Linked DNA regions of Homo sapiens: all the other regions are linked to region 1. The links are contacts of gene promoters, found by promoter capture Hi-C in human tissues and cell types (Jung and others, 2019). All regions are on one chromosome and are shown on one strand. The core of a region is centred on a gene start or on the middle of the fragment in contact, and the rest is flanking DNA. Distances in the headings are between cores, read along the strand shown.

What was found. Contacts are between HindIII fragments. The study calls those that stand out against the background at their distance.
Region 2: a fragment that was not itself captured here is called in contact with the fragment with the promoter of CLPB in region 1 in 1 of the 25 tissues and cell types used here (IMR-90 fibroblasts).
Region 3: a fragment that was not itself captured here is called in contact with the fragment with the promoter of CLPB in region 1 in 2 of the 25 tissues and cell types used here (adrenal gland and mesenchymal stem cells).
Region 4: a fragment that was not itself captured here is called in contact with the fragment with the promoter of CLPB in region 1 in 1 of the 25 tissues and cell types used here (lymphoblastoid cells).
Region 5: a contact is called between a fragment that was not itself captured here and the fragment with the promoter of CLPB in region 1, in 2 of the 25 tissues and cell types used here (dorsolateral prefrontal cortex and lymphoblastoid cells).

Annotation. Positions count from the first base shown.
Region 1 is chr11:72,433,065-72,437,125 of GRCh38, forward strand. It overlaps CLPB (ClpB family mitochondrial disaggregase), which reads right to left and starts at 1,467. Exons shown (of 16, transcript NM_001258392.3): 1 at 1,008-1,467. The coding sequence starts at 1,410. RefSeq lists enhancers at 1,089-1,548, 1,612-2,418 and a silencer at 3,830-3,879. The HindIII fragment of the contact is 14,936 bases long and covers 1-4,061 here.
Region 2 is chr11:72,049,759-72,053,621 of GRCh38, forward strand. All of the region lies in intron 2 of NUMA1 (nuclear mitotic apparatus protein 1), which reads right to left. Among named protein-coding and RNA genes, the nearest start is that of MIR3165, 21 kb to the right of the region's middle. The HindIII fragment of the contact is 4,976 bases long and covers 1-3,863 here.
Region 3 is chr11:72,175,873-72,180,158 of GRCh38, forward strand. All of the region lies in intron 2 of FOLR1-AS1 (FOLR1 antisense RNA 1), which reads right to left. It also overlaps the pseudogene FOLR3P1. Among named protein-coding and RNA genes, the nearest start is that of FOLR1, 14 kb to the right of the region's middle. The HindIII fragment of the contact is 8,900 bases long and covers 1-4,286 here.
Region 4 is chr11:72,090,931-72,094,799 of GRCh38, forward strand. It overlaps LRTOMT (leucine rich transmembrane and O-methyltransferase domain containing), which reads left to right. Exons shown (of 9, transcript NM_001145310.4): 4 at 2,566-2,771. LRRC51 (leucine rich repeat containing 51) reads left to right here. Exons shown (of 6, transcript NM_145309.6): 4 at 2,566-2,771. Among named protein-coding and RNA genes, the nearest start is that of LAMTOR1, 10 kb to the right of the region's middle. RefSeq lists an enhancer at 269-428. The HindIII fragment of the contact is 6,356 bases long and covers 1-3,869 here.
Region 5 is chr11:72,156,629-72,160,479 of GRCh38, forward strand. It overlaps the pseudogene FOLR1P1. Among named protein-coding and RNA genes, the nearest start is that of FOLR3, 23 kb to the left of the region's middle. The HindIII fragment of the contact is 5,430 bases long and covers 1-3,851 here.

The DNA.
Region 1 (4,061 bases), core at 217-2,716:
AGTCCCCCAGCAGTTGCCCTTGGGCCTCCAGGAATCCACCTTCCTTCTCCTGCCAACTATCCCACATGGCAAGATCACCTCACAGCATGTGAGACCAGACACAGCAAAATCCTGAGACTGACAGACTCAGGCCGCTGAACTCCAAAAAGAGTCAAAATAACAGTACTGTAAAAATGTTGGGAAACTATCCTTCACTATATAAATAAAGAAATTGGTCAGACGCGGTGGCTCACGCCTGTAATCCCAGTACTTTGGGAGGCCAAGGCGGGTGGATCAGGAGGTCAAGAGATCGAGACCATCCTGACCAACAACTAAAAATACAAAAATTAGCTGGGTGTGGTGGCCCGCACCTGTAGTCCCAGCTACTTGGGAGGCTAAGGCAGGAGAATAGCTTGAACCCGGGAGGCGGAGGTTGCAGTGGGCCGAGATTGCGCCACTGCACTCCAGCTTGGCGACAGAGCAAGACTCCATCTCAGAAATAAATAAATAAATAAATAAATAAATAAATAAATAAATAAATAAATAAATTGAGGTCAAGCTGGCATTAGAACCGAGTCAGGTTGTTCCTGACTCTGGCACCTTTGGTGGCGGGGGGTAGGGGGGAGCGGTTTGGCAACTTCTCTAAACCATCTGGCGGTTGCCCTTAAAACACCCCATAATTTCCGTTTCCTGGAGATCTCAGGAAAGAGGAATTGGACCAGGCAGAATATGAGAAACATAAGGGGACCATGCTATAATATTAGATGTTTAGTCCAATATCCCCATTGTACAGATGGATAAAATGATGCCCAGAGAGGGGAAGCGGATCTATGGTACGAGATTATACAACTCCGAGGTGATGAGGTCTCTAGGGCAACACCCTGCCCCTGTAACCAGATGATGTCTGAGTCCCTCCAAGACTTAGGCTCTAAGGATCTAAACCTATAAGTACCTCCCACCCTCCTAAGATACGAAGTTAGGACAATCTTCCCGCCTCTCCCTTCCTCAAACCCAGATCTCATAATCACCCTTGTTGGACGGACTCTTGCTGTAGCAATGAACCACCAGCGCTGCGGCCAGGGCGCACATGCCCAGTCCGGCCCTGCTGGGGACCCCGTTCCAGCTGTCCTGTCCTGGGAGTGTTTCTTCGGGACCAGGAAGGCGTCCCCAAGTGGCAGCCGCGAGGCATTTGGTATCGAAGCGTCCTCCCTGGCGCCCCCCGGTGGCTGCCCCACGTCCGGAGAACAAGGCCGGCGATGTTCCAGGGCGCCCCCCGGTGGCTACCCTCAGCCACTGCGGCTCCCCGAGACTCCCAGTAGTCACATTCCGGCCGGAAGCACCTCCATGGCCCCGGAGCGTTGGGGACCTGAGCAGCCGGAGGAGTAGCCGTGGCGCCAGTGCTTTTCTCCTCAACACCAGGGACCCCAGCATCTTGACAGCTGCTTCGATAACCCCGTGGTGCCGGCCCCTGTGCTGACCACGTCCAACATGGCTGCCGCGGCGCGTTCGAAGACGCCGCGAACAGGGTGGAGTTGCGCACTACCTCACGGGAGAGGTAGTCCACAGCCCTAAGCCTTTCCCCAGCTGGAGAATAAATAAACTACGTTTCCCAGAAGGCTGTGGGATTGCGTCACAATGACTGCGGGATTATAGAAGCCCGGGGCATATTGGGAAATAGAGTTCGGGTGAAGGGGCGTGGCGATTAGAGTTAAAGATTAGAATCCCAAGACTTCTTTCCTAGTTTAGTTGAAGCACACGACACACTTTTTTTTTTTTTTTTTTTTTGAGACGGAGTCTCGCTCTGTCTCACAGGCCGGAGTGCCGTGGCGCGATCTCGGCTCACTGCAACCTTCGTCTCCTGTGTTCAAGCAATTCTCCTACCTCAGTCTCCCGAGTAGCTGGGATTACAGGCGCCCGCCACCATGCCCAGCTAATTTTTGTATTTTTAGTGGAAACGGGGTTTCACCACGTTGGCCAGGCTGGTCTCTAACTCCTGACCTCAGGCGATCCGCCCGCCTCGGCCTCCCAAAATGCTGGGGTTACAAGCGTGAGCCACCGCGCCCGGCCCACAATTTTTGACTGGTGTAAATTACCCAAGAATCTTCAGCAGAGGCATATTATGAAACTTATGCTTATTTAGTTTAGCCTATCTCTTTTTTCAGCCTGGGCGGCCTTTCAAAAAGATGTTTAGGGTAACTACTGCACCTGAGATAGGAATACATTTTATTTGAAGAGTTGACTTCCGGTCTTTTTTTTTTTTTTTTTTTTGAGACAGAATCTCACTCTGCCGCCCAAACTGGAGTGCAGTGGCGCCATCTCGGCTCACTGCAACCTCCGTCTCCCTGGTCCAAGCGATTCTCCCACCTCAGCCTACCGAGTAGCTGGGATTACAGGCACGCACCACCACGCTTGGCTAATTTTTGTATTTTTAGTAGTAGAGACGGGGTTTCACCATGTTGGCCAGGCTGGTCTCCAACTCCTGACCTCAAGCGACCCACCTGCCTCAGCCTCCCTAAGTACTGGGATTACTGGCGTGAGCCACTGCGCCTGGCCCTGATTGTGTTATTTTTAAAGGGCTTTCAAGTGGGTCATCTCATCTGATCCTCATGGCAGCTGTGTGTGAGAAGCTGGGCAAGAACTGTTATTCCCGTCTACAGTGAAGGGAATTGAGGCTCAAAGGTGAAAAGATTTGCCAGTAAATCACCTGGAGTAAAGTAATGCTCAGGTCTTCTGATTTTGAGCATATAGTTTCCATTAACACCTGCACTCCCATCCCGCCCCCTCTTTTCCAAACTGAACCCATAGGTAGGCAAAGGAGGAAGTTCTTCTTTGTGCCAGTTCTGTTTCTTCCAAGTCTTGTACGTCTGCTCAGACTTCACATGATCAGAGTCTTCCCTGACCATTCTGGTTAAAATAGTAATCCTACGCACCCCATCCTAATTTTCCTTCACAGCATTTATCACCATCTGACATACTACATTTTTATTGTCTTTCTCCACTACAGCATGAGCCCCATGAGACAAGGACTTTGTTTTTTCACTTTTATATCACTAGCACTCAGAACAATGTCTGGAACAAAAGAGGCACTCAGTTTTTTTATTTTTATGTATTTATTTATTTATTGAAGCAGAGTCTTGCTCTGTCGCCCAGGCTGCAGTGCAGTGGCACGATCTCAGCTCACTGCAAGCTCAGCCTCCTGTGTTCACGCCATTCTTCTGCCTCAGCCTCCCGAGTAGCTGGGACTACAGGCTCCCGCCACCATGCTCGGCTAATTTTTTTGTATTTTTAGTAGAGACGGGGTTTCACTGTATTAGTCAGGATGGTCTCGATCTCCTGACCTCGTGATCCACCTGCCTCGGCCTCCTAAAGTGCTGGGATTACAGGTGTGAGCCACCGCGCCCGGCCTGAGGCACTCAAATATTTTTTTCAGTGAATGGATTACTCTCACCTTATTAGTGTTGGAGAGTACTTGAGCTTTGGCATTCAGGCAGACGTGGATTTTAATTTTGACTCTTGCATTTATATGGGTGACCTTGGACAAACTCCCTTTACCTCTCTGGTAGTTAATTACTCATTGTTGAAGATATCAATTCCTGCCTTCAAGATGATTGCTTGTATTAAATAAGATAATATGTAGAAAGCCCCTAACACTGTCCCTGGCTCACAGTAGGTCTTCAAGAAATGGTAGCTATCATTGTATATTCTCTGCTCTGTGTATTCTACACTTCCTCCAGGCAAAGATGGAACTTCTCATTTCCACATCCGTTAGTAAGACAGGAATGAATGAGCGACTTTTTTGGTTTTTTTTGAGACAGGGTCACGCTCTGTTACACAGGCTGGAGTACAGTTGTTACTGCAACCTGAAACCTCCTGGGCTCAAGGGATCATCCCACCACCTCAGCCTCCTGAGTAGCTGGGACCACAGCTGGCACCACTACACCTAGCTAATTTTTTGTTATTATTATTATTATTATTATTTGGGTAGAGACTAGGTCTCGCTATGATGCCCAAGCTGGTCTGAACTCCTGGGCTCAAGCAGTCCTCCTGCCTCAGCCTCCTAAAGTGCTGGGATTACAGGCGTG
Region 2 (3,863 bases), core at 1,233-3,732, 380 kb before region 1:
GTTACAGTGAGCTATGATCATGCCACTGCACTCTAGCCTGGGCAACAGAGTGAGACCCTGTCTCTAAAAAAATAAAATAAAGTACCTTTCCACTTCCAAAAATTCCCATGATTCTTTCCACAGGATACCATTCTCAACAACAAATCTTGTAGTAGAACTTGTCTCCTCAGAATCTGGTCAAAACATCACTAGTTAGGGTGTTCTTTCAAAAAAAATAGCAAATCTCCTAGAAACAGGCACATTGTGTGTTACCCTATTAGGACCCATCCCCAAAGCGAGGCACATGTGGGTGCTTCATTAATACTCTGTTGAAAGGAGGAGGTCCTTGGAAACTGGTAGTACCAACTTAGCATGGCATACAATGAAAGGTGATTGGAGCCACACTCGAGGAACTACAAGGCAGCTTTTCATAAATAAAAGCCACAAAATGCAATTTATAACTACATCTGTCTAAACAGACTAAAGAAAAGTAGCTTTCTATACCTAGGTCTTCACCCCTTCTCCTCCCCACCTCTCTACTTTATCATCCCTGTCCTACACAGCACTGAGACCCGTCTTTCTGGTTCCAGGTCCACTTTTCCTTTTTCCACACCAGAATGCCTTTAATCACTGATAGAAATGAACAAACATGAATATGAGTTCTAAACAGGAAGACAGATAGCCTCAAGAACCAACTTGTCAATATGTTACTAATAAGTGAAATAAGTGGGAATGGTGTCTAACATGGGCATGATAAAATAAAACCCTAAAATACATACTGTGCTAGGGATTTGAACAAACTTCAGGATTTTTAAGGAAGGCTGTGTCTCACATCTCAATTAATCTTCCCAAAAGAACCCTAAGAGGCAAGGTTTATTCCAATTTTATAAATTAGGAACGTAAGGCTCAGTAAAAAGAAAATACCTGCCTCAAGGTCGACTGGTAAGGCTGCAGAGCCAGAACTCAAAGAGATGTCTTCTAAATCCAGTGCTCTCTCCAGCACATCTCAGCTACATCCTCTATCTTTCTCATCAGTATAGGTCTTCATGTATACAAAGCATTTCTGCATTCATTGTTCACACTGCTTCTGCCACAGCTCATGAAAAGGACAATGCAGATGTCTAAATGGCACCAGATCTATACCCACCTTTTTTTTTTTTTTTTTTTTGAGACAGGGTCTTGCTCTGTCACCCAGGCTGGAGTGCAGTGGCATAATCATAGCTCGCTGCAACCTCAAACTTCTGGGCTCAAGTGATCCTCCCGCCTCAGCCTTACAAGTAGCTGCTGCTACAACAGGCACGCGCCACCACGCCTGGCTATTTTTAATTTTTAGTAGCGATGAAGTCTCGCTATGTTGCCTAGGCTGGTCTCAAACACCTGGGCTCAAGCGATCTGCCTGCATTGACCTCCCAAAGTGTTGGAATTAAACGGTGTGAGCCACCGTGCTGTCCTATCCACACTTTTAAAGATGCTAATAAATAACGTGATCACCATCAGAGAAAATAAATCCTACGTATCTGGCATCACTGAGAAGTACAAAATTTCACACAAGCAATTTTCCTACTAACTGAAATTTATCCCTTTTAAGGCAAAGCTCTTTCTTTATATCAAAACATATTCTCCAAAATACATAAGATATGTTACTCTTTACTTAGAATTAATGAAATTTAATCAGGGATATTCGACTATAAACATGATATAAACATCCTACATACTGTGCTAGGAATTCAAAGATTTTTTTTTTTTTTTTTGAGACAAGGTCTCACTCTGCTGCCCAGGCTGGAGTGCAGTGGTGCAATCTCAGCTCACTGCAACCTCCACCTCCCAGGCTCAAGTGATCCTCCCTACCTCAGCCTCCCAAGTAGCTGGGGCTACCGGTGTGCAGGACCATGCCCAGCTAGTTTTGTACTTTTTGTAGAGATGGAGTTTTGCCATTTGCCCAAGCTGGTCTCAAACTCTTGAGCTCAAGCGATCAGCCCACCTTGGCCTCCCAAAGTGCTGGGATTACAAGTGTGAGCCACTGTGCCTGGCCCAAGGGTAAATCTTTAAACTTGAGTTTATAATCTTGTAGAGGAAGAGACACATCTGTAACCATAATATGAAGCCAAAGAACATGGGCTTGGGGTGTGCTGAAAGGAAGGTAAGATAACACAAGCAAGGCTAGTGGGGACCAACAACCCAGGGTGACTTACTGAAGAGAAGTGGGAGGCACTGAAAAGTCCTGGGCAGGAGAATGGTATACTACTTGTGCTTTTTGAAAAGATGACTCTAGCACAACAGTGAGGCCAGAGGCAGAAAATGGACTTAGGTGGCAGCGACAGAGGTAGAGAGAAAACTGCACTGCCAGGGCAGGGGCAGTAGGAACTAAAACAGGTGGCTCTGAAAGGCATTACAGACGTAGAGACAATGCTCTTAGCATATAGGGGCGTGGGAAAGGTGGGGAGCTAAAGAGAACACTAAGATTCTTGCTTTCATGGAAAGATTTCAGAACGAGAAAATAAGAGTAGGTACTGGTTTAAAGGAGCGTGAGGGACTAACTCAGGATGGGATGATGGGGAATGCTTTATAGAGGAAGTGACATTTAAGCTAGATATTAAAATATGAGCAGGATAAGTAGAGTTTCACCAAAAAGTAAAAAAGCATTCTAGGCAGAGAAAACAGCACATGCAAAGACAGACCATATTACAGTTGAACAATGGCATGCAGTTTTAGGGAGGTGCATCAGATGATAAGAAGGGTAATAAGTAAGGCCAGGGGCGGTGGCTCACGCCTGTAATCCCAGCACTTTGGGAGGCCAAGGCAGGTGGATCATGAGGTCAGGAGATTGAGACCATCCTGGCCAACATGGTGAAACCCCGTCTCTACTAAAAACACAAAAATTAGCTGGGTGTGGTCACATGCCTGTAATCCCAGCTACTCAGGAGGCTGAGGCAGGAGAATCATTTGAACCCAGGAGGTGGAGGTTGCAGTGAGCCGAGATCATGCCACTGCACTCCAGTCTGGTGTGCTCCAGTCAGAGCAAGACTCCATCTCAAAAAAAAAAACAAGGGTAAGTAATATTAAATTGTGAGGCACTTGCCTCATACTAAGAAATTGTAGGTGATGAGAAGACAATCAAGGTTTCTAAAGGAAGAGGGTAAAGGGGAGCAGCATGATCAGGGCTATGTTTCAGAAGGGAAACTGTATAAAGTACAGACTGGAATGGTAAGACACAGGAGGAAGGCAATAGAGCATAATGGCTAAGATTACAAGGTCTGAACTTAAGACAACCTAATACAAATTCTGGGTTTATAGCTTAATAGCTCTGCAACCTTGGGCAAGTTATTTACTCTCTCTGTGCCCTCATTTTCCCCAGCTGTAAAATGGGAATAATAATAGTACTTTATCAGGCACAAGCCACCACACCTGGCTATTTTATTTTTAATTTTTGTAGAGACAGGATCTTGCTATGTTGTCCAAGCTGGTCTCGAACTCCTCAACTAAAGTGAAGCTCCCACCTTGTCCTCCCAGAGCACTGGGATAACAGGTATGAGCCACTGTGCCCAGCCCATAGTTCCTAATTACGCCTTTTTGTATTTTATTAATTTATCTTTCTCTTACTGCCTTAAGTTCCATGAAATCACAAACTGTGTGCTCACCGCTGAATTCTTAGAAATCAGCACAATGGCTGGCACAGCATGAGTGCTTGATAAATACTTCTTGAATGAATGAAAGGTTCCAAACTATATATTTTAAATGAACTCTATTTAAATGTAACCTTTATATAGAACCCCAGGACACACAGAAGAAGACAGTTTGAAGTAAGGGATATTTGGAGACTTGTTCCCTCTGCTTCCCCCTGGTTCTTAAGTCAGTTCTATAGTTCTGTAAAGCTTTACAGAATG
Region 3 (4,286 bases), core at 1,097-3,596, 260 kb before region 1:
GCAGCATGATTTATAATCCTTTGAGTATATACCCAGTAATGAGATGGCTGGGTCAAATGGTGTTTCTAGTTCTGGATCCTTGAGGAATCGCCCCACTGTCTTCCACAATGGTTGAACTAGTTTATAGTCCCACCAACAGTGTAAAAGTGTTCCTATTTCTCCACATCCTCTCCAGCACCTGTTTTTTGCTGACTTTTTAATGATTGCCATTCTGACTGGTGTGAGATGGTATCTCATTGAGGTTTTGATTTGTATTTCTCTGACGGCCAGTGATGATGAGCATTTTTTCATGTGTCTGTTGGCTGCATAAATGTCTTCTTTTGAGAAGTGTCTGTTCATTTCCTTTGCCCACTTTTTGATGGGGTTGTTTGATTTTTTTCTTGTAAATTTGTTTAAGTTCTTTGTAGATTCTGGATATTAGCCCTTTGTCAGATGGGTAGATTGCAAAAATTTTCTCCCATTCTGTAGGTTGCCTGTTCACTCTGATGGTAGTTTCTTTTGCTGTGCAGACGCTCTTTAGTTTAATTAGATCCCATTTGTCTCTACAAAAAGATTTTAAAAATAGCCAGGTGTGGTGGCATGGGCCTGAATCCCAGCTACTCAGAAGGCTGAGGTGGGAGGATTGCTTGAGCACAGGATGTAGAGGCTACAGTGAGCTATAATTGCACCACAGCACTCCAGCATGTGCAACAGAGAGAGACCTGTCTCAAATAAATAAATAAATAAGGGAAAAATGCACCAATATTGTAATTGCCTGTGTTCCCAGGTGGGGACTCCTCAAGGGCCCTCCCTAGGAAGTGTTCCTCTGGATGACCTACCTGGGGCAGAGGAGCCAGAATATGGGGGAGATGGCTGCGGTGGTGAGGGACTTAGTCCTGTGTCTTCCCCACCCAGTGCAGTCCCTAGAAGAAGAATGCCTGCTGCATGACCAACACCAGCCAGGAGCTGCACAAGGACACCTCCCGCCTGTACAACTTTAACTGGGATCACTGTGGTAAGATGGAGCCTGCCTGCAAGCGCCACTTTATCCAGGACACCGGTCTCTATGAGTGCTCACCCAACCTCGGGCCCTGGATCTGGCAGGTATGAGTGCCATTCCCACAAACATGAACCTCATAGCTGGGTGCATTGGCTTATGCCTGTAATCCCAGCACTTTGGGAGGCCAAGGCAGGTGGATTACCTGAGGTCAGGAGTTCGAGACCAGCCTGGCCAACATGATGAAACCCTGTCTCTACTAGAATACAAAAATTAGCCGGGCATGGCGGTGGGAGCCTGTAATCCCAGCTACTCAGGAGGCTGAGGCAGGAGAATCGCTTGAACCTGGGAGGTGGAGGTTGTAGTGAACCGAGATTGTGCCACTGCACTCCAGCCTGAGCAACAGTGCGAGACTTTGTCTCAAAAATAAAACAACAACAACAAAAACAACACAAAACATTAATCTCAGCAGAGGGCACAACCTGCCAGCCACTTGCAGAGAGGGCTTGGTCCAGGAATTTGGGTCTGAGGGTGGTGGACGCCCTGCCCCCTCCCACAGCTCTGGTCTCCTTCAAGGGTAAAGCGGCTGAGATACGTGGCTGACAGGAGTGTTCCGTCTCCTCCCCACTCAGGTCAACCAGAGCTGGCGCAAAGAGCGCATTCTGAACGTGCCCCTGTGCAAAGAGGACTGTGAGCGCTGGTGGGAGGACTGTCGCACCTCCTACACCTGCAAAAGCAACTGGCACAAAGGCTGGAATTGGACCTCAGGTGAGGGACGGAGGAGATGAGGTGAGGAGTGGGAGTGGGGCTTTGGGGTTGGGAGGGGTGTGGTCTGGCCCAGAAGCTAAGGGTCTTACATTCTCCTCCCTCAGGGATTAATGAGTGTCCGGCCTGGGCCCTCTGCCACACCTTTGAGCCCTACTTCCCCACTCCAGCTGCCCTTTGTGAAGGCCTCTGGAGCCATTCCTTCAAGGTCAGCAACTACAACTACAGCTGAGGGAGTGGCCGCTGCATCTAGATGTGGTTTGACTCAGCCCAGGGCAACCCCAGTGAGGAGGTGGCCAAGTTCTATGCTGCGGCCATGAATGCTGGGGCCCCGTCCCATGGGACTGGGGCCGTGGACATTGGTTCCTGATCCAAGAAGGGTCCCCTGGGGTTCTTCCGACAACCTATCCTAATAGACAAATCCACATGTGTCTTGTGTCTTGTAATCTGGGGACAAGTGGGTTGGAGTGACACATTGCTTCATCTTTCCTATTGATAGTCCCCGAATCAGGCTGGAACTGGCTTGACATTCACTGGGAAGTAGGCTGTGGAGGTTGAGCCAGAATCTAGGTATCTATCTATCCCTCAGCCTGGTTCTCCTGAGACCCTCCCGCTCACACAAAGCTCATTACCCCCACACTATACACGGACAAAAGCGCAGGTGGAAGGAAGATGGGCAGAAACAGGAGATGAGTTATTGGGCTTCAGGTGGGGAAGACAGTTTATTTCCTCTTCCCTCACTAGATGTGGGCTGGGAGGAGATACTGTTTGGAGAGGAGGGTCTCAATGATAAACACCTGCCTTGTTTTTATTTGTTTGAGACTGGGGTCTTGCTATGTTGCCCAGGCTAGTCTTGAACTCCTGGGCCCCAGCGATCTTCATTCCTTGGCCTCCCAATGTGCTGGGATTATTGCAGTAGGTCATTGTGCCTGACCTACTTTTTTTTTTTTTTTTTTTTTTTTTGAGACGGAGTCTTGCTCTGTCACCCAGGCTGGAGTGCAGTGGTGTGATCTCGGCTCACTGCAGCCTCTGCCTCCCATGTTCCAGCGATTCTCCTGCCTCAGCCTCCTGGGTAGCTGGGATTACAGGCACACACCACCACGCCTGGCTAAATTTTGTATTTTTAGTAGAGATGGGGTTTCACCATGTTGGCCAGGCTGGTCTCGAACTCCTGACCTCAGGTGATCCACCCACCTTGGCCTCCAAAAGTGCTGGGATTACAGGCATGAGCCACCGAGCCTGGCCTGACCTACTTTTTAATAAATGACAAGTAATGCTGCAATTAACAGTCTTGTACCAGCTGTTACAAGATTGTAACACTGAGCACCTTGAGCTCAGTGGCTCACGACTGCAATCCCAGCACTTTGGGAGGCCAAGGTGGGTGGATCACCTGAGGTCAGGAATGTCAGACCAGCCTAGCCAACATGGTGAAACCCCATCTCTACTAAAATATACAAAAATTAGCCAGGTGTGATGGCACATGCCTGTAATCCCAGCTACTCAGGAGGCTGAGGCAGGAGAATCGCTTGAACACAGGAGGCAGAGGTTGCAGTGAGCTGGGATCATACCACTGCACTCCGGCCTGGGCTACAAGAGTGAAACTCCGTCACAAAACAAACAAACAAAAAATCTTGTACCTAGTGGAATGTTATACTGAATTCCAGAAAGGGTTATTGGGTCAAGAGTATGTATAATTTTGATAGTTACAACTTTATAGAGATTTTATCAATGTGGCTCCTCCACCAGCAAAGCATGAGAGTGCCTGTTTCTCCGCTGGGTGTGTGAGAGCTCACACCTGTGATCCAGCACTTTGAGATTCTGAGGCAGGAGAATCTCTCGACCCCAGGAGCTCAAGATCAGCCTGGGCAACATGGTGAAACCCCATCTCTACAAAAAACTAAAAAAATCAGCTGGGCATGGTGGTGTGTGCCTATAGTCCCAACTACCAGGGAAGCTGAGGTGAGAGAATCACTTGAGCCCTGAGAGGTTGAGGCTACAATGAGCTGTGATTGTGCCACTGCACTCCAGCCTGTGCGACAGAGCGAGACCTTGTCTCAAAAAAAAAAAAAAAAAAACAGAGAGAGAGAGTGCCTGTTTCTCCACAACCTTGTCAACACAGTATGCCATCAAACTTTGGTTTTCTGCTCATCTTACAGGTGGGGAAAAGGGCAGCTCAGTCCAGTTTTCATCTGCCATTGTTCTGAGATCTTTCCATGTTGACCTATTGAGATGTTAAATTACTAGGTAATAATCCATTCTATGTGTACATCACACTGAATTCAGTCACATACTGATGGGCATTGGAAGGAATGGGGTTCTTTTATGATCTTGACATTGCTGAAAGCCACAGGCCAGTTATTTGGTAGAATACTGCTCCATTTGGGTTTGTTTCCTCATGATTCACTGAGGTTACACATTTTGGGCACGAATACCCTACACAGTTATTCCATGCATCGTAACAGGAGGCACGTGGTGAGGGGTTTGCCCATTCCTGGTGAGGTTAACTTTGATCTTTTGGTTGAGATCATGTCTCCCAGGTTTCTCC
Region 4 (3,869 bases), core at 1,278-3,777, 340 kb before region 1:
AGATCTTCCTGGAGCTAAATGCTCCCCAGTTCCCAAAGCATTGATATTTGTGGTCCAGCTTCCAGACCTGCTTTGGCCTACTCTGAACAAGGAACTTTACAGATTCTTAGGCAGTGTAGTGCATTGGTGGAATCTGAGAGGAGCAGCAACCTGTGGCAGCCTGGATATACCACTCCATCCTTGGTAAGAGCAGCTCCAGCCAGCATCAAGTTTTAGGCAACTCTGTCCCACCAGTGATTCCCTCTGAGCTTGGCCTCCACCCCATGCTTGGTGGCATTCCCCAAGCTGCTACCTTATCACATGGGGCACTAGTTCATGTGGGGTTATTTTGACCTTAATTTTGATTCATCTGTGTCATTCTGTTTCAGGGTTCTAAGGAGGTATGGGGAGGGAAGCAGGATTAGGAATTCATGAGCTGGGGTACGCCGTTCCAGTACCCTCCTGCAACCCCAGGCCCCAATTGTGGGTCCTGCTCACTCTAGGATTAAGGCAGAGAGCCATCTGGTGGATGTTGCCTGACCTGCATCTGAGGAGGAGGAGAGGTGGGGGTGGAAGGGCAAAGGGTGTCCTTCCAGTAGAGAGCAGAAGAGAGTGAAGAAAGCTGGCTAGCTTCCGCAAATACTAAATACTTCCTTCCCCAGGGGTGAACTAGGGAACCAAAGGCTTAGCAGCAATGGGAACTGGACCTCATTTTGAAAAAGTGGGAGTGAGGCTTTGGGGTGTTCCATACACCGGGGTTCTAACATAATCCTATTCCCTATTCTCTCTCCTCCTCAGCCAAACTTTCTGAGGATGTTGTTTATGCTAACTGCTTATATCCATTCACTCTTTTTTTGGTAGAGACGGGGTTTCATGATGTTGCCCAGGCTGGTCTCAAACGCCTAGGCTCAAGCAATCCTCCTGTCTTGGCCTCCCAAAGTGCTGGGATTACAGGCATGAAACCAGCCTCCATTCACTCTTGAACTCACTCACTTCAATCTGGCTTCTGCCTCCAGGCCCTTGCCATTCCACTGAAGCAGCCCTTACCAAGGTTACCAGGGACTTCTAAGTTGCCAAAATTACTTTTCAGTCCTTACCTCCCTGGAACTTACTACTATAAACTATTTACTCCCTGAACATCTTTAAACTGTCCTCTCCTGATTTTCCCTGATCATTTAACTTCTCTAATGGATTCTTCTTCCTCCCTGACCTTCCTCCCTACCCTCACTCTCCCTGAGGAATCTCATCTCTTTCCCTAACTTGTATGCCTTCTATGCTAATGATTCTCAAGTCTGTGTCTCCTGAGCTTCCGACCTTCATCTCCAACTGCCTACTTGACTTCTCCACCTTTTTGTACAGGAACCTCAAATACACCAAAGCTAAGCCTGAACTCATCACATTCCCAATGCTATTTCTTCTTCTGTAATTCCTTACCAGTTAATACAACTGGCAACCACCCTTTAATATTCTTCTACCTTTACATCCAGTCAACCAAATTATGTTGATTGTAGGGCCCTCTCATGTCTTGCTTGGATGACTCAAACAGCCAAATTGGTCATTTGGTCCAACTCACTCCCTAAAATCCATATTCCACACTGACACTTAAGAGTGATCTTTCTGAAATAAAAGATTTGAATCATTTGCTTTAAACACTCCAGTGCCTTCCCATTACACACAGGGTAAAGCCCAAGATCCTTAGCCTGACATTTGAGACTTTTGACTGGATTCCTGCCTCCTTTTCCTCTCTGTCCCCCTTGTGCAGTGCGTGCAAGCACTTGTGCAGGCACACAAACCCGCCCCAGACTCCCTGGCTGTTCTGTACCTCTATACCTTTCTTCATGCTGTTCCCTGCCTGTTTACCCTTCTTTGCCTGATAAACATCCCCTAATCCATGGAGATTCAGCTCAGGCTTCACCTTCCCTGGGAAACTTCCCTGAGCTCCCATACTGGGTCAATAGCCTCTCTTCTGTGCTGCTACAACTATTATATAGCACTTATCACACCATGTTGCCAGCTTGCTCCCATCTTGCCCATATAAGCTCCTCCAAGGCACAAATGTCTGCTCTCTGCCCTATTATTCATACAAAGTCTGGAACAGACTGTCTCTCATTTTGTTTATCACTGTATATCCAGTACCTGGCATACTGTAGGTACTCAACATTCATGGAAAGAGAGACAGGATATCAAAGTGTATTCCACTGAAGTGAATTCTATAGGCTTTACCAGTAGTTAATTCAGGATTTTGTGCTATCATCTACTCAGCTCAAGCCCAACAATTCTGGTTCTTAGTTTTCCTCAACCCCACACTGGTTTGGTATAAAAAAGACCCAGTGGTACAGTGGACATGAGAAGTCCATGTGACCTGGAAAGCCAAGAGCTTGAGATAGAAGTCTCTGGCCCTTAGTCTAAACTTACTGATTGCTGGAAGCTGTGGGACAGGGTTGCACTAGACTCAGGCACAGGGCTATGGCCCTTCCAGACCCTCCAGCTACAGCCTGGATGGCTAATCTTTCCAGCTCTGTCCCTTCCCACCCCCTAAAGCCAAAAAAGCAAAGATGATACCCAAGTCTCACTTTGTCCCCACAGATCTGGTAAATGAGGAGCCAAGGACAGGACTACGACCACTGAAGCGTTCAAAGTCGGGGAAATCACTGACCCAGTCCCTGTGGCTGAATAACAATGTTCTCAATGATCTGAGAGACTTCAACCAGGTGGCTTCACAGCTGTTGGAGCACCCAGAGAACCTGGCCTGGATCGACCTGTCCTTTAATGACCTGACTTCCATTGACCCTGTGAGTTCCTAACAGTAGGAATCCAGTCAGGGGAGCCTGAAGCCACTTTGTTCAGCCCCCAACCTCTCCACTCCTACATGTTATCAAGGAAGTAATGAGGCAGCATGGTACAGTCCAAAGCACAAGGCTAGGGGGCCAGACAGATAGATGTAGGTTCAAATCCTGGGTTTGCCTCTTACTGACTGTGACTTTGAGCAAGCTACCTAACCTCTCAAAACTGCAGCCTCCCTGTCGGAAAAATGGGGATAATATGCCAGTATCATAAAGGTTTTGTGAGGATTGAATGAAAATACATGAAAACCACCGGGCACAGCGGCTCACGCCTGTAATCCCAGCACTTTGGGAGGCCGAGGTGGGTGGATCACAAGGTCAAGAGAGATCAAGACCATCCTGGCCAACATGGTGAAACCCCGCCTCTACTAAAAATACAAAAAATTAGCTGGGCGTGGTGGCGGGCGCCTGTAGTCCCAGCTACTCGGGAGGCTGAGGCAGGAGAATCACTTGAACCCAGGAGGCAGAGGTTGCAGTGAGCCGAGATTGCGCCACTGTACTCCAGCCTGGCAACAGAGTGAGACTCCGTCTCAAAAAAAAAAAAAAAGAAAAGAAAATACATGAAAACCAACAAACAACTGGTACATCAGAGGCTGAAGTAAAATTCTAACTGTCACTGCGCACCCACTGTGACCTGTGCTGGGTTCTCCTGTGGAAGAGGTAGTCAATAAAGTACAGCACTTACTTTCTGTGAACTCAGATTCAAGTTTTAAGAAATAAAGTTTGGCCTTTTCTAGTCCAAGATCCCTAAGAGGGGAAAGGAGCTGGAGCATGACTTGGACACTATTCCCCTGGTGTGGTGATCTCAATTTAACCAGTATTTTAAAAGCTTCTTATGTGCCTAGCATGATGCTCTGTCTTCCTGTTGCTTGCTGTGATAGAATCGTAGATCACCAAAGCTGGAAAGGTCTTCAGTGAAGGGGCAACTAAGGCTGAGAGAGGCAAGTCAGTGGCAGTGCTGGTACCCAGGCCCACACTCCTGACCCTCAGATCACAGCTCCTTTTCAGTGTGATGCCCTGTATGTCTTAAAACATAAATAAAAGTAG
Region 5 (3,851 bases), core at 1,118-3,617, 280 kb before region 1:
AATCCATATTCAAATATAACTAAAGAAGAAACAGAGGAAAAGTAATTTGTAATATGGATTTCTATTTATATTCGTTTTGACTCCATTAGCAGATAGCAGTCACTGCCCTGTTTGCACTTGTTTTGAATCAGTGAGCCTGTAGCTGCCAAGTGCAGACTAACAAGAGGTAAATAACCTGTATACCTTGAGCAGCTCTGACTTTAACTTATTCTTTTATTTTTTATATTTTTATTTTTTTTTATTTTTATCTCTTTTTAGACATGAGGTCTCACTATGTTGTCCCAGTTGACCTCAAACTCCTGCACTCAAGTGATCCTCCCACCTTGGCCTCCAAAGTACTGGGATTATAGGTGTAAACCACTGTGCCTGGGCTTTTATATATTTTTTAAGTGCACATTTTAATGTTTAGCTTGTCAGCCTTAAGTAACGAGATCCAGAAAGCTTGAGGATAGCTACACAGAAGCATAGATTCAAGTTGTCCTGAATATACACTTCGATTCACAGCAGTTACAAGTGAGTTTTTAAGGAAACAGAATAGTTCCTAAGTTGTTTATCAAGAATTTAAAATAAAATAACATAAGCAATTCATTGGCTATACATTGTTTTTTGTATCACAAATTCCAGGAACAGATAACGGGTGAGGCAGCTAGTCAGGGACAAAACGCCTTGGAACAATTGTCTCTGGGCATGGGTGGGGAGGGTGTGACTGAAGTTCCATACTCATGCCTTTCTGGGCCTGATAAATTGGGCATGTCTCACATCATGAGACTGCTCTGAGCTATTTTTCTTTTCTCAAGCTTTATACCAAATTCTAGGCCGTGGGCTTTCATTCATTCAATAAGTATGTATTGAGTGTTTATGTAATCGGAACTCTTCTGGGGTTACAATTTAACTTACTTTCTCACCTCCGAATGGTTATCACCTCAACGAGGACTAAATCCAATGATTTTTTTTTATCTTGCCAAAATTCCTATCTAAGGGGTCTGGGGAGTCATGCCCTACAAATCATAAATTCTCATCAGATGGGTTTTATTTAACCCTATATATCATGACTTACTTTCCAACCTGACTCTGGCATAACATGACGAGACAAGGAAGAAAAGCAAAATATTTTAATATTTTTACCTCAAAACATGTTTCTTTGCCATATCTTGAAATGGCCCTGCTACTGTCCTTTGTGGGGGAAAATTTTCATCTGTAAAGAATCTCTATTAACATAGCTGGATCTTTTTCTACCAGGCCCTTCCAATCATAAAGAGATTAACTAAGTGTAGCACCTTTTATAGATCTGAATAGGAAACACTTGTCATCTGTTGTTTCTAAGGGCAGCCACTATAAGACTTCAAAAGAACCTTGGTCTCCACAGTCTTTTATCTTAACATTTCTTTTCTATCAACCCCAGGTCTTTAGACAAACTCAACCAATTGTCAACCATAAAATGTTTAAATTTACGTATAGCCTGAAAGCCCTGCCACCCCACTTTGAATTGTCCCACCTTCCTGGACCAAACCAATGATTTTTTTTTTTTTTTTTAGATGGAGTCTCCCTCTGCCGCCCGTGCTGGAGTGCAGTGGTGTGATCTCGGCTCGCTGCAACCTCCGCCTCCTGGGTTGAAGCAATTCTCCTACCTCAGCCTCCTGAGTAGCTAGGATTACAGGTGCCTGTCACCACGTCCAGCTAATTTTTTGTATTTTTAGTAGAGACAGGGTTTCACTATGTTGGCCAGGCTGGTCTCAAACTCCTGACCTCAAGATCAGCCTGCCTTGGCCTCCCAAAGTGCTGGGATTACAGGCGTGAGCCACCGTGCCTGGCCAATGTATTCCTTAAATGCATTTGATTGATGTCTCATGCTTCCCTAAAATGTATGAGACATCCTTCTCCCCTGATTGTTTTCAAAAGCAGTGATCCATTGAGGTGCTCATTTTTGTAACCCCAGTTACTAGAAAAGTGCCTGGGTAAGAGTATGTAGGATCTCTATAAAAGCTGAATTAACGAATTTTGTAATGACTGCACCTCCAGACAGGAGCTGTCTTCCGGGCTTCCACAGTCTCTGACAGCCCTCTCCCACAAAGAGTTTACCAACAGCAAGGACTTTCCTGGATGACTTCCACTGGGTTGGGGATTAAGGATTGAAAGGGGAGAGGCTGGGTGTGGAATATTCTGGCTGTGCTGGCTGTGGACTTAGTCCTGTGTCTTCCCGCATCCAGTGTAGTCTCTGGAGAAAGAATGCCTGAGCTTTACCAGCACCACCCAGGAAGCCCATAAGAATATTCCCATCTATATGGATTCAACTGGAACCACTGTGGAGAGATGGTACCTGCCTGCAAACGGCACTTTATCCAGGACACCTGCCTTTACGAGTGACCCCCCAACTTGGGGCCCTGGATCCAGCAGGTACGCATGGCTTCCTGGCATCCAAGAGCTAGCAGAGGAGCTGAATTTTCCAGGCGTCTCTGCAGGCAGCAACCCCAGCTCCAGTTCTATTCAGGGCTGGGTTCCTGGGATTCTTGAGCCTGAGCCCTTCTTTTCTACCAAAATCTCCCAGGTGGATCAGAGCTGGCGCAAAGAGTGGGTGCTGAATGTGCCCCTGTGCAAAGAGGACTGTGAGCAATGGTGGGAAGATTGTCGCACCTCCTACACCTGCAAGAGCAATGGGCACAAGGGCTGGAACTGGACCTCAGGTGAGGGCTGGGGTGGGCAGGAAAGGAGGGATTTGGAAGTGAAGGTGTGTGGGTGTGGAACAGGTGTGTGACATTTTGGGGTTGTAGGGCTGGCAGAATCAGAGACCCTTTGGGGCCCAGTGGCTAAAGGTCTTCCCTCTTCCCTACAGGGTCTAACAAGTGCCAGGTGGCAGCTGCCTGACTACCTTTCCATCTCTACTTTCTCACACCCACTGCTCTGTGCAGTGAAATCTGGACTCACTCCTACAGGGTCAGCAACTACAACCGAGGGAGCAGCCGCTGCATCCAGATGTGGTTCGACCTGGCCCAGGGCAACCCCAATGAGGAGGTGGCAAGGTTCTATGCTGCAGCTCTGAGTGGGGCTGGGCCCTGGGCAGCCTGGCCTCTCCTGCTCAACCTGGCCCTAATGCTGCTGTGGCTGCTCAGCTGACCTCCTTTTACCTTCTGATACTTGGACATCCCTGCCCTGTTTAGCCCCACAGCTCCCAACTATTTGGTTCCTCTTCTATGGTCTTGTCTCTGACAGCCACTTTGAATAAACCAGACACCACACATGTATCTTGAGAATTATTTGGGTATGAATGGGAATGTGGCTGTTTTGTTTCCCATTTCTTATTGATTGAAGCCAGTTAGACTGGGCTAGTTCCCAGCTCTGATGCTTGCTATGAACTAGCCTGATACTTAAGTATTCTTCTAAGGTAGGAGACATTTGTAGCTCTCGATTTTATTATTCACTATAGCTCCAATTTAGAGCCAAGCCCAGGCATTTTTCTTTTTTTGAGACAGGGTCTCACTCTCTCACCCAGGTTGGAATGGAGTGGCATGATCTCAGCTCACTGCAACGTCTGCCTCGTGGGCTCAAGTGATCCTCCCACCTCAGCATCCCAAATACTTGGGACTACAAGCATGTGCCACCACACCTGGCTAATTTTTCAATTTTTTGTAGAGAGGAAATCTTGCAATGTTGTCCAGGCTGGTCTCAAACTACTGGGCTCAAGCAATCCTCCTACCTCAGCCTCCTGAGTAGCTGGGTCTACAGGTGTGAGCCTCCACATTCAGCTAATACATATAATATAAAACATGTATTATATATGTAATAGTAGAGACAGGGTCTCACTATTTTACCCAGGTTGTTCTCAAACTCCTGCGCTGGAGTGATCCTCCCAAAAT